Linked DNA regions of Homo sapiens: region 2 is linked to region 1. The links are contacts of gene promoters, found by promoter capture Hi-C in human tissues and cell types (Jung and others, 2019). All regions are on one chromosome and are shown on one strand. Each heading gives the region's core, a stretch centred on a gene start or on the middle of the fragment in contact. The rest is flanking DNA. Distances are from core to core; before and after follow the strand shown. Region 1 holds the start of WDR73 (WD repeat domain 73). Region 2 has its middle 200 kb from the start of MIR7706.

Evidence for each region. The method cuts DNA at HindIII sites, captures the fragments that hold promoters and counts their contacts. A contact is called where the count stands out against the background at its distance.
Region 2: a fragment that was not itself captured here is called in contact with the fragment with the promoter of WDR73 in region 1 in 2 of the 25 tissues and cell types used here (IMR-90 fibroblasts and bladder).

Annotation. Positions count from the first base shown.
Region 1 is chr15:84,651,900-84,659,074 of GRCh38, forward strand. It overlaps WDR73 (WD repeat domain 73), which reads right to left and starts at 2,384. Exons shown (of 8, transcript NM_032856.5): 1 at 2,335-2,384; 2 at 1,733-1,800; 3 at 815-903. The coding sequence starts at 2,375. NMB (neuromedin B) reads right to left here and starts at 6,300. Exons shown (of 3, transcript NM_021077.4): 1 at 6,097-6,300; 2 at 5,277-5,449; 3 at 3,233-3,510. The coding sequence starts at 6,253. The coding sequence ends at 3,475. RefSeq lists enhancers at 1,737-2,704, 2,131-2,370 and a silencer at 6,256-6,415. The HindIII fragment of the contact is 11,541 bases long and covers 1-7,175 here.
Region 2 is chr15:85,178,297-85,185,099 of GRCh38, forward strand. It overlaps the pseudogene NIFKP8. Among named protein-coding and RNA genes, the nearest start is that of MIR7706, 200 kb to the right of the region's middle. The HindIII fragment of the contact is 3,731 bases long and covers 1-3,543 here.

The DNA of each region.
Region 1 (7,175 bases), core at 1,134-3,633:
TGCTGTTGCCCAGGCTGGAGTGCAGTGGCACGATCTCAGCTCACTACAACCTCCGCCTCCCGGGTTCAAGCAATTCTCCTGCCTCAGCCTCCTGAGTAGCTGGGATTACAGGTGTGCGCCACCATGCCTGGCTAATTTTTGTATTTTTAGTAGAGACGGGGTTTCACCATGTTGGTCAGGATGGTCCCGAACTCCTGACCTCATGATCCGCCCAACTCGGCCTCCCAAAGTGCTGGGATTACAGGCGTAAGCCACTGCACCTGGCCTTCAATTCTTCTCTCAATGATTTTATTGGAACTCTAGACAGCTACTAACTCTTTTTTTCTTGAGAAGTTCTCTTCTCTTGGCTTCAGAAACATTGACCTTTTCTGAGATTCCTCTTACCTCAGAGGCTGTTCTTTCTTAGTATTCTTTGGGGAGGGGGGGTGCATCTTCCTGTACTCATCCCTTAAATGTGTTCCCTGAGGTTCCGTCCTCACTATATTCTCCTCACTCCTTATATACCACACATTCACTAGGTGACTTTAATCACTCTACGCATTTCGACCGCCCTCTATATCCTTAATCGCTCCCTAAATCTATTTCTGATAAAGTATAACTGACCTCCTCCTCTGATAGCCCTCTGTAAACCACGAGACATTCTACAGCATTTATCTCTGTGCATATGTGCCTCCCTCTGTTAGACTAGAAGGGCAGGCCTAGCGCTTTCTCTCTTTCTAGTATCCAGGACAATACCTGGTAGATAACAGGAGCTCCACAAATGTTTAATAAATAAATAAAAGTTGACATACTCAGCATTTATATTTTAAGTTACCTTGTTTTCCTTTACAGAAAGTCTGAGAGGTAATTTCAGATGAAGAATTTCATTCTTTTTCAGGCTTTCATAGCCAGCAACAAAGACTCCTGGAAAAAGAAGCAGAGGTAGCTGTCACAAATTGTTAGAAAGATTGCAGACCATGCAATCCCCCGAAGTAAGGATACATTCCTTCACTGTGCAGCCTTGTATGGAGGAATTGAGTACCTGGTTGTGTCTTTTTCAGACAAGGTCTCGCTGTGTCAGCCAGGCTGGAGTGCAGTGGTCCGATCACAGCTCACTGCAGCCTCAACCTGCCAGGCTCAAGTGATCCTCCCACCACAGCCTTCAGAGTAGCTGGGATTATAGGCGTGAGCCACCATGCTCGGCTAATTTTTGTATTTTTTGTAGAGACAGGGTTTCCTTGCTTAGGTTAGTCTCAAATTCCTGGGATCAAGCAATCTGCCCGCTGCCTCAGCCTCCTGAAGTGCCCAGCCTGAAGACTTTTTTTGTTAGCCACGCTGGAATACAGTGTCGTGATCTCAGCTCACTGCAACCTCCACCTCCTGGGTTCAAGTGATTCTCCTGCCTCAGCCTCCCCAGTAGCTGCTGGTACACAGGTGTGCACCACCTCGTCCGGCTAATTTTTGTATTTTCAGTAGAGACGGGGTTTCACCATGTTGGCCAGACTGGTCTCGAACTCCTGACCTCAGGTGATCCGCCTGCCTCGGCCTCCCAAAGTGCTGGGATTACAGGCGTGAACCACTGCTCCCGGTCAGAGATCTTAATAAGAGGAATATTAGTGCTGATGGGGCATCAAATTGCTACAAGTGACTCTCAGGTGCCCAGAAGAGTGGGTTGGGTCCCTCTAGGCTTAGCTCCTGAAACCCAGCTCAGGAGTGAGATTCCCTCTCCTTCAGGGCTAGAAAGGTATACCACCTTTGTCATCAATCCATTCAAGGACTCGAGTGGCTCCTGACAGGTCGAATGCATAGAAATCCTGGTACCTGCACAAAAGGGACACAGAATCACACGATGCACAGCACTTCACAGCTCAAAGAACTCCAAGATGGCAGCCGCATGGTTCAGTGGCCCAAACTCTGGAGTCAGGCAGACGTGGGACTGAGTTTACTTCCCATTTTACTCCCTGTTTCTGGGACCAGGCCAGTCCCTTGATGTCCCTGAGCCTCGGTCCTCATGTGTGGACGTCCCAGGGTACCCAGATTTCCCAAGGTTGACGTGAGGAATCAATGAGATCATCTGTGTTCTGAGCTGAACTCAGAGGCTGGCGCAAACTAACTGGGCACTGCGTCTTCACAAGCGCGGCTCTTACTAGTAATCTCACAACGCGCGCACGCAGGAAGGAGCCATTTCCTAGAGATGGGGGCCTAGGCCCAGGCGGAGTCCTCCACGGTGGCGAGCCCCGAGGCCACAGCTGGCCCACTCTGCACCAGGATCCCCAACGTGCCTCCACCCACACCCATCCGCCCGCCAGGCAAGCTCCAGGCCCAGCTCCCATGTCCCAGCCCCGTACGATTTACAAGCGCAAGGATTCCACCAGCCAGTCGTCCCCAGGATCCATGGCAACGACCGCTTCCGGCGTCTCACTTCCGCCTGCGAGCCTTCGGGGGCCGCGCGGCTCTCGCGAGATGTGGGCAGGGCCTCCCGTTAGGGGCGGGGTTAACAGGCTGAGCTGCGGCCCGGCATGGGTGGGTTACGGGTTTTCTCCGCGAAAGCTCCGGGAAAAGTGACCTGAAATCGGGACTTTCCCGCTGTCAGCTCCAAGCAGGACCTGAGGACCAAATGATCGCCCGTTTTAGGGCCAGGTGTTTGCAGCCCAAGAGAGGGGCAATGAATGCTCCAAGGCCAGAAATAATACAGGACCGCCCGGTTAAATTCGAATTTCAGAAAAACGGTGAATAATTTCTTTCTTACGAGTATGTTCATGCAATATTTGGTACATTTTATTAGATAAAATTATTGTTTATCTGAAATTCGAATTTAACTGGGTGTCCAGTATTTTTATTTGCTAACGCTGGCAACCCTTCTGACGGCCAGAGAAGAGAGGAAGCGGCCGGCAGGGTCTGGATCCCAACTCGGCGCTCCCCTCCAAGTCCGGCGGGGGTATTGAGTAAAGCCCGGCAGTGTAGTGTCTGCAGCCCCCTTTTACTAGCGAGGAAACTAGTGACACTTGCCTGCGCCAGTAGGTGGCAGAGATGAGAGTAGAACCCCGCGCCTGGCACGAAGCCTGGCATGCAACAGGCGTTATTTGCTTGCTGAATGAATGGGTAGGAGGCCAGAGTCAGTGCCAGGCTGGTGCCATGGCATGGGGTATTCTGGACTTTTTGAGCCAGCCCCATCTCACTGAACACTCTGCCCTCCAGCCCCCTTTTCCTCCCATCCCCTAAAAGACGGGTGAAAGGAGAGGACCAGGCATTGTATGTAAAGAGCAAGGTTTTATTCACCAATTCAACAGGGAAGCAGGAAATACAGCAGGAACATAATCTGTGTCTGCATCAGCGATATTTCTGGTGACCCAGCCAGAAATCACAGTAATGGAGTAACAGAGATTTGAGCTCAGGATTTACATCCAGATGGGGCCATCAACAGGGTCCCATTCAGCACCTTCCCTGGGTGGGCACAATCTAAGCCACGCTGTTGTGTCTGCCCCATTATTGGTGTCATTTCTGCAGTATTTGTACCAGCAGCCTCCTGTACTGAAGAGAAACATACAGAAGAATTGAGCCAGGGAGGGGCTCCTGATAAAGATAGGGGCATCCTGCCATTCCTAAGTGCCAGATGTCTGCAGAGGTGGGCACCAGCAGGCTGTCAGCTGAGGCAGGCCCCAGAGCACCCTGAATTGCCTTGGAGGGGTCGGGGCAGTAGTTTTCTCAGAACACAGCCCCAACCACCCAGGGTGGTCATGACAGTCAAAGAAGATCGTGGAAGAAAATCCAAATACAGTGCTTGGTGCTGGGCTAGTGTCAGCGTCCTCACTCCCCCACCCCAGCTCTGCCCCAGACCTCACTCTGAAGCCCCAGACGTAGGCACTGCTGCTTCTGAGATTCTCTAGTTGGTCTGCATGTGTCAGAGCTTCAAAACCAAGGGCATTAGAGGTGACATTGTTTCCCTTCAGACTCAGCCAGCCCAAGCTCCTAGGCCTTACATCTGAGGTCCTCAGGGGCTGCTGGTTCTGTGCCTCAGGAAGTCAGGGATGTTGGTTGAGGCTGGGTTGGACCTTTTCTAGGGAATGCCTCTCCCTTCAAAATGCACACACTATATGCTAGGCACACTGGGGGATATGAAGGCGAGTCTACAACAGGTGCCGCCAGGGAGCTCACAGACTGATAAGAGCTCGCATCTACTAAGGGCTGTCTATGAGCCAGGCACCATGCTGAGCATTTGACATAAATGGTCTCATTTAATGGGAGATGGGCCTTATTATCTTCATTTTATGGGTGAAGAATATTGAGGCTTTAGAGAAGTTAAGGGACATTTCTAAGGTCATACAGCTACTAAGTAGCTAGGTTATGAGCCCAGCACGTTGTAGTCAAAACCCACATTCTACCACATCACACTGCCTTCTGCACACAGCAGCAGGACCAGGGAGGGTGGTGTGCAGTAAGGACAGCACCAGGAGCAGGGAATGAAGGAGTTGCCACTCAGCGGGGCTATACCTTGAGGCTAGCTTGGCTCCAGCTTTGGAGTCTTGAATCCCATAGATCAGTGACTGACAACCAATAATGATTTGGGGCCCTCTCCCCCAGCAGACATCTGGTGATGTCTGGAGGTCTTTTCAGTTGTCACAACTTGATGGGGGGGAAAGATGCTACTGGCATCTAGTATGTAGAGACCAGGGATGCTGCCAAACATCCCATGATGCACACGTCAGCCCTCACAAGAAACAGTGATTCAGCCTAGAACGTCAAATGTACTGAAGTTGCTAAACCCTACCACTGGATACTGAGGCAGATGAGAGAATGGGAAGAGCTCCAGTCCAGGTGAACAAGGTCCAGACTCTGTCTTGGCTGCTGACTTCTCTTTCCCTCTCTGGGCCTCAGGGTCCCATTCCGGCCACAAGCATACACAGGACACAGCAAAGGTGGACTTGACTAATGCAGCAGGGAACAGCATGGGTGGGACAAGACTGTGTAGACTGGGGGAGAAAGGTCCTGCTCCAAAAGGCTGATGATCCCAGTCTGTTACTTTAGACTGGGTGATGAGTCAGGGGAACTTCTTTCCCTACTTCTTGCCCCATGGGGTCTACTGGGAAGGTCAGCTTCCTTTCTTTGGACTGTTCCTCCTTTGAGCTCTGCCTCAAGAGGGAAAAGCCTGGAAACCTGGCTTTCTGGGGTCCACACCCATAATGTCCTAGTCAGACAGTCACACCCTAATACAGTACTGGGTGGTAATTCCTCCCATGCAGGATCCGGGGATGGCCCCAGCTGGGCCCTCCTGACATTGGAGCAGGGGCCCGGCTCACCTGGATTTGGGGTGCGGGGCGGCTGAGGCTCACGCCCAGAGCCTTCTTTAGCAGGAGGATTCCGAGCAGATCATGACTCAGCTGCAGTCGCTGGTCCCTCAGGGAGGTGTGGGGAGCTGTCCCCAATGGGGATGGGCTGGAAGGCTCCAGACTCTTCTTGCCCATGAAGTGACCTGGAAAGGAGGTGTCCAGGCACAAGGAAGTCAAGCAGCCAGGATCCTACCTCAGAGGAAAAGTTCCTCATCTCTCCCACGTTTCCGTTCTTGTAGCGGGAAGACACTTAACCTTCCTCCTCTTGGTGCTTCCACCTCACCAAGGAGCCACAAAGGTGTCTGGGTGGTGGCAAAGCCTGCTCCCTCAGCTTTTCCTGAACAGGTAGAGAGGATGGCACAGCTGGCAGGAAGGTGGGATGGTCCAGGGCCAGGGAGAAACTCTGCTAGTTGTGTGGGCTGCTTGGACAAGGGACGAAAAAGGGCAGGGTAGGAAGTGGAGAGTGAAGAGGCGCCTGGAAAGTGGAGGTGCAGCAAAAACACACCAGCGGTTAGAAGATTCGGTTAAGTCTCGCCTAAGGTAAGGGGCACCGGCTGGCAGTGGGATTTAGGATCTAGCCCAGCCCTGTCTTAAACTGGCTGCGCGACCTTAGCCAAGTCACTGACCTGTCCGGGTCTCAAGTACATATCTATTAAATTAGATGAGCCCCAGGGTTTTCCACCTGCTCCGACACTAGTGTCCGTGGCTGAGGAGCGGCCAGAGGGTTGAGAAGGAAATGGGGTCTGAACTGGATGAGGGGCGCTTGCTTGCTCCGTCCCCAAAGACTTACCGGTGGCCCAGAGGTTGCCTCGCGAGTGCACTCGGATCTTGCTGGCTCGGCTGCGGGGCTCCGGGAGATCCCAGCTGAGCGGGGCGACGCCGGCAGCGAGCAGGGCGAAGAGCAGGAGGCTGCCGAACATCCGAGCGCCCCCCGCCCGCCGGGCCATGGCTGTGCCCGGGCCGCGGCTTCGTTCGGGCGCGCTTCCCGGCCGCTGGGCTCCGGGGCTGCCTTCGATCCTTTTAAATCCGCGCCCCTGGGGGCGGAGCCTGCCCTGAGCAGCGGAGCCGTGCCCCGCGCCCGCCGCCCTCCCCGCCGTCCCCACCCTCCCGCTAGGTTACCAGGCAGGGGCACCCCCTTTGGGCCGCCCAGAGACCTGCACACCCACACTCTGGCCCGCACGCGGGCACCGCTTCCGCCAGGGGCTTCTGGCGGAAGCCCGCCACCTTCAGGCTAAGGACCGGGCACCGGCCAAACAGGGGCCCGGCCCCGGCGGCGGAGCCGCTTCCCCTGGCCCTGCCTTGCCACTCTGCCACGGCTTTCGGCCAAATAGGCACTTCAGCCCTCTGAGCCTCTCTTCATGAGGGTAGAGGTCGGGCGAGGAGCTCTCCTCCCGGGTAACAGGCTTTTTTTTTTTTTTTTTTTTTTTTTTCTGAGACAGGATCTGGCAGTATCGCGCAGGTTGGAGTGCGGTGGCGCGATCACGGCTCACTGCAAACTCAACCTCCAGGGCTGGGCTCAAGCCTCAGCCTCCCCAGAAGCTGGGACCACAGGCACACGCCTTCATGCCTGGCTTTTTTTTTTTTTCTTTCCAAGAGACTGGATGTCGCTAGGTTTCCCAGGCTAACAGAGGCATTTTTACAGTGTCCAGCCAAGTGCTAGGCACCAAAGGACTTCCATAAACTAATCCCCATCACCTCCGCCCTTTGGGGGAATCTGACCCGTGTTCACCTTGCTCTCTGCCCTCTCACAGCCAGCATCACAGTCTGGAAATGTTCTGGCACACAGTAGGTGCTCAGAATGGGAATGCAGAATGATGGAGGGTGGGACAAAGGGCCGCTTCTGAGGAACGGGCATCCAGCTGGAGGGCC
Region 2 (6,803 bases), core at 428-2,927, 530 kb after region 1:
CCATGACCATGCATTTCATGTACCAACATTTTTCTAACAATAATATTTACAAAGCATGCTATGAAAAATGTTCAGAGAAAAAGAATACAAAATTGTAAAAATCATATATAATTAGTTTTTTGTTTGTTTGTTTTTACGGCAAGAAAGAAAGTAGATTGTCCGGGAAGATGGTTTCTTCCACTTTGCATTTCTCTGGTGAACTCATTAGGAACTCTAAAAAGTTCCAGGAGTAGAATTACAGGGTCAAAGTACCCTGGCTATAACTTCTGATTCAGAGAATCCTAACAACTTACATTGTCACCAGCAAGGTCTTTGACTATATGAGCAACTCTCACCTTAAAGCATTTCTCATCTGACATTAGCTGCTCGGCTTTCTGCGGATACATTGACTCCAGGAGGCTTCTTGAGTTCTGTGTGTTCAGCTGGCCTCCGGTGGCCCCATTATTATTTTCTGCCAGGTAAAGTTCAGTCACCTACACACAGGTCTCATCACTCACGATATGCTGCAGCTAGAATCAAACAAAGGCAAACTGTCAGTGAACACAGAAAACATTTCTCCATTACACAGTCAACGTTCCTTTGACTGATCCAGTCACTCAACTCAAAAGAGGTTTTGGTTTTATTTGGCTGGCAATTTTAGAAAATTCATCGCACAAACAACTGTATCATTTTCTTGGAGAATAATCAAGCTAAGATTTTCTACCATATCAGTGGTTCATTGTAAAACTTTCATATCTATTTAAAATAAAAACCATAGAGAACTCAGGTTAATGTACTCTTTATTTAAAATTCTAAGGATCTTTAAATAATTTTCCATGGGTCATATTTTTATTGCATTTTAAAATCATTTACAATTTGCTTTCACACATATTCTCCCTCATTTGATCCTTACAACTTCCCTGGGAAGCAGGTTGGAGAGAGAGTTGGGACCTGTTAGGAGACAAATTTACACAATACATAAGAAAGCTCACTGAGAGCTGGGGTGAGGAGGGGAGCCTTGGAGAATCATGAAAGCAATATCTATGTCTTTATTCCCAGCCCAACTACAAAGCCTGAAACTCATTAGGTATTTAAGAAATAGCTGCTGAATTATTGCCTAGGGGTGCTGAGCTGAAGAAGCAGGGTTGGGACTAACAGTCAAGCTTCCTGACTCCTAGCCCAATACTTTTCCAAACACAGCACCAATTTTTCTGTATCTGATAGAAAGTACAGTGCTTAAGTTGTACATAATGTTAACTCACTTTCAATACAGGCCAATCATGATTGACTATCAGTAGCTTTTGTGACAATCTTAGGAAACTAATGACTAGAAAGTTGAACCTTTCTAGTTCAACCATTCCCATGTCATATGCTATTTCTATTTTGAAAAAAAAAATCCTTTCAAATGAAACTATCCATCAAAATGACAGAGAAGTGAAAAATAGATAAAAGAAGAAAGCAAAAAGTTAATTTCAATATCAATTTGTCTATTTTACTTTAAAATTATCATAACCACCTAGCCATTCTATTTTTAGGAAGCTACGTTCTTTTTGAAGTGTTAGGAACTATGATAATTATTTATTCTTAAGTTGAAGTCCTAAATGACCAGCATGTGTATTAGTAGATAACCGGACACAGAGCAAGGTCAGAAGGGTGACTGAGTGTGGCAGAAAGGACAGTATCTCCAGCAACTGCAGATGGATAACGACAATGAGTCTAGATAATGGATCTGATACAACCATTCAAATAATGCTTATGAGTACTTGATAACCTAGGGAAAAGCTTCAGATACAGTGTTGTAGAGAAAAAAAGGGCAAGGTGGAAAAAAATATGGAAAACATGACTTCAATCATGCATACAGATGCTTCAATCATGCATACAGATGCTTCAATCATGCATACAGATCCTTCCACTTTATACTTTCTTTTTTTTTTTTTTGAGACAGGGTCTCGCTTTATCACCCAGGCTGGAGGGCAGTGGCATCACAATCTTGGTTCACTGTAGCCTCGACTTCCTGGGCTCAAGCAAGCCTCCCACCTCAGCCTCCTAAGTAGCCAGGACTACAGGCATGTGCCACCACACCTAGCTAATTTTTTGTATTTTTAGTAGAGATGGGGTTTTGCCATGTTGCTCAGTCTGGTCTCAAACTCCTGAGCTCAAGTAATCTGCCTTCCTTGGCCTCCTAAAGTGCTGGGATTACAGGCGTGAGCCACCGCCTCTACTTTATACTTTCTTGTTGAAGTAGACTGTATTACTGATTCCCCACCCACATCCTCTCTTTGGATATCCGGACCCTCCTCGAGTCTCTGGAAAGGGCAGCACTACAAATCCAGGGACAACTAGGGAACTCCCACCCCCACTGCTAGGCAGATCAGATTCTCTATCCTGCTCATTGGAAATGACACAGAGAGTGTTCGATAGATTTTTTGCAGAGGAGCATCTGTATGGAAAGGTCCAGTAACACTGGGACCAGGGGTACTGCCAGGGCAAGCCAAAGCCTCAGCGGCTGGAGGAGCCTGGAGCACGTGCCGAACGTCCATCTGCAGAGCAAAGCACAAGCATGGAGCAGAAGTCCAGAGTGAAGGCATGCAGGAGAGGAAAATCACCTCCCAGCACAGTCCTTCCATGGTGTGGTCACATGCTGAGTTCTGTATTTAGATGTCTGTGAGATTGCCTATTGTATTCTTAATACAGATCCCACTTAAGCCAGTCAGAAAAGGCTAAGATAAATGTAATTTTACTTGGCTGGAGTGCAGTGGCGCAATCATGGCTCACTGTAGCTTCAACTTCCTAGGTTCAGGTGATCCTGCCACTTCAGCCTCCCAAGTAGCTGGGACTACAGCCATGATCCACCACGCCCAGCTAATTTTTTGTATTTTTCTCATAAAAACATTATATTTTTCAGAAGAAATCTTATATATAATATATTGAAAATCACTGAATGCTTTGTCTTTTTTTCTGTGAATGTGTAGGTGTTTGAGTCTCTTGTATTTCTTCTTTTACACAGGATATGGGCTTTTCAAAAACTATTTCATTATCTTCATCATCATCATTCATTTCAGCCACTTCAGATTTTTGTCTCTCCAAAAATGTTGATGTACAAACCGGTGTGGGGCCCTGGGTATCCACAGTCTTCTCAGGAGTGTCAGGAATGCCTAAAACCTTTTTCTTCTTCTTACGTAAAACGTGGCCTTTTGTAGACATCAGATGATTCGTTTTTGAAATACTTTCCATTTTCTGTAAAATCAAAGAAGGAAAATCATAATCAATTCCTTTATAAGCTAATTTCTTCCTGAGTAATCTTTCTTTCTTTTTAAATCGTCCCTCTATTCGCAGCTTTTGTGTAAGTGCCGATTCTGATTATGCTGTTTCACTGACAGATATGATGGCTGCTTAAATGGAATATCCCAGTCTTTAAAGAGTTCTTTTTGAATTTTTCAGGTGGCATAAAATGACACTCTGAGAGTCTTTCACCAAACAGGTAGTTGTTCATCGTTTCAGCAACTATCTTGGCAATATCCTCAGACTCACACTCCACACATGCATAGCCTTTGCTATTTCCAGTCCTTTTCTTTCTGGATAGTCTGAACCTTGTAACAGTGCCACACTGGGAGAAATAGGAAAGGATCTGGGTTTTGTTCAGTAGGTTAGGTAGGTGGCACACATAGACTACTCCAGGAGTAAGCTGTTCTTGTTTTTTTCACTGGGTTATGTGCTTGCGAACCTGTGCCACTTTCTTCTGAAACTTGGCATCTTCCTTCAGGTTCAGTGACTGGATTGGCCCAGCCAGGTTGGAAAAGGCCACCATGCCAAAAGCGGGGACACCAACTCCAGGCAGCGCTCCCGGAAATGCCCATTTTTTTGTATTTTTAATACAAGCAGGGTTTCACCATGTTGCCCAGGCTGGTCTAGAACTCCTGGACTCAAGCGATCTGCCTGCCCTGACTCCCAAAGCACTGGGATTATAGGTGTGAGCCACCGCACCCAGCCTTGACTTTGAAATACATGTTGTACATCCAGTCAGCAGTGAACTCTGGCGGAACACCAAAGATGAGGACAATAAGAGAAGAGATACGTCCAATTAAAGGAGTTAAGAAGAGATGCTTGAACTTATGTTTTAAAAAGTCACTGCAGGTTGGGCACGGTGGCCCACGCCTGTAGTCACAGCATTTTGGGAGGCTGAAGTGGGTGAATGACTTGAGCCTAGAAGTTTGAGACCACCCTGGGCAACACGGCAATTCCCCATCTGTACAAAAAATACAATAAGTTAGCCGGGCACAGTGGCGCCTGTGGTCCCAGCTACTCGCAAGGCTGAGGTGGGGGGTTGAGGCTGCAGTGAGCTGAGAGCCACCACTCCACTACAGCCTGGGAGACATAGTGACACCCTGTCTAAAAAAAAAATTCACTGTTTTGGGGTTTTCTGGATGAAACCTCTGTTTCCTTTAAAAAAAAAAAAGGGTGTAGACAGTATGTATTACTGATTCAAAATCATAACCAGATGCTTAGAGTAAATAATTGTATCTATTGTTTCAAAAACCAACCTCAGGATTATTAAAAGTTAGTTTTATTGGATTTTTTTAAGCTGTGCTGATTCACTCAGGTCTGTCACTTCCAAGCCCATGTTTTAATACTTTGTAACCCTATTTGGAAGGAAAACTGCAGCTAAGATTATGATCCATCCTGAGATGTTATAAATGTTTCTATGAAAAGAACATTTCTAAACCCAAAGTAGTACAATCTTACATCTTTTGCAAATTTCTTTGATGTTTGGTATGTCATTTGCATCTGCATCCAATTTACTGTGTGATATTTGCTTGAGAAAATGTGAACAAAGCCCAGTCTTATACAGATAGGCATTTTAGATCATTGTGGATATTTCTTTTTCTTTTTTTTTTCTTTTTGAGATGGGGTCTTGCTCTGTCTCCCAGGCTGGAATGCAGTGCTATGATCATGGCTCACTGGACCCTCAGTCTCTGGGGACTCAGGTGATCCTGCCAACTCAGCCTCCAGAGTAGTTGGGACTACAGGTGTGTACTACCACACATAGGTAATTTTTTGTATTTTTTGTAGAGACAAGGTTTTGCCATGTTGCCTTGGCTTCTTATTTGATACTCCATCAAAACTTGATTTTTCTTGAACTTTGGATCTTTTACCTTTGCATGATATTATAACATCATGCATTGGTCATTTTGAAAATAATAGTTCACCGAGATCTTCTATATGTTGATACCTTTGATTATATGGTATCAAAATACACTCATCAATATCACCATCAGTCTCATCAGAATACTTTTGGAAAGCAATGGTGGATATAAGTTTTCTAAAATTCTAATTTTTTGTTTAAAAGCTTGAGTTTTATTATTAGCAATTTTATTGTTGAATTTTATTATGGCCTGTCTGTTGTTTTGCTTGAAATAACAGAATCTCCTTTTTTGAGAAAATGTCTCTCAAAACCCAAGCTGAAATAATATTTTTTTGTCAGTCATCCTTTGAAGTAAAAATGATATTACACTAAAGTGGCTAATTCACTTCATGACTTAGTCACACGAAGGTTTTTTCTAAGGCAGTCTGTAGGAATGCTCATGTATACTTCCCATTTCATCACTTGAAATATTAAAAAGACATATTCAAGGATTAAGATGTAGTAAAATTTTCACTGCTTCATCATAGACATTCTTTTTATTTTTGAGACAGGGCCTTGTTCTGTCACCCAGGCTGGAGTGCAGTAGCATGATCACAGCTCACTGTAGCCTCAACTTTCTGGGCTCAATCAATCCTCCTGCCTCAGCCTGCCAAGTAGCTGGGACTACAAGCATGCAACCACCATGTCCGGCTAAGTTTTATATTTTTAGTAGAGACGGGATTTCACCGTGTTGGCCAGGCTGCTCTCAAACTCTTGACCTCAGGTGATCTGCCCACCTTGGCCTTCCAAAGTGCTGGGATTACAGGCATGAGACACCATGCCCGGCCCTCCCTTCCTTTTTACACCTTTAAACCTTTCCCGTGCACAGTAGTCATACCATGACTACTAGTAGTTTGGTGTTACTGCCTTTATTTATGCTAAAGTACCAGCATTTTTACCCACCATTGCATCTGCACCCTTACAGCAAATGTCACCATGTTAGTATTCCTGTCAAAACAGTTTGGACCTGGGGGTCTGAGGGCCAGACTTTGTGAACCATTGAAATAGGTACTTAAACCTACTATATATCATATCTTTTCATCTACAAGATTTTTAAAAACTTGATTTCAGTTAATGTTTTTGTAATTTTTAAAATTTGGTTTTGAGGGGTTTCACTCCAGAGCAACAACATGTATTTTATTTTGCTTATGCTGAAGTTTAGTAGACAGATACTAACCTAATAGAATGAGGTCCTAAATCTAGTTGCAGTTTCTTTAGCCACAAACAAACAAACAAATAAAACACCCAAAACTAAAAATGTAAAAATGGTCCATATGGTGTATTCCCAATGTATGCTGAAGAATTTGGAGAAGAAAATGCAGTACTCAGTAAGTGGTATTCTTCAAGAATAGGATTGGGCCAGGCATGGTGGCTCACACCTGTAATCCCAGCACTTTGGGAGGCCAAGGCAGGCGGTTCACGAGATCAGGAGATCGAGACCACCCTGGCTAATATGGTGAAACCCCGTCTCTACTAAAAATACAAAAAATTAGCCGGGCGTGTTGACAGGCGCCTGTAGTCCCAGCTACTTCGGAGGCTGATGCAGGAGAATGGTGTGAACCCTGGAGGCATAGCTTGCAGTGAACCAAGATCGCACGACTGCATCCAGCCTGGGTGACAGAACAAGACTCCGTTTCAAAAA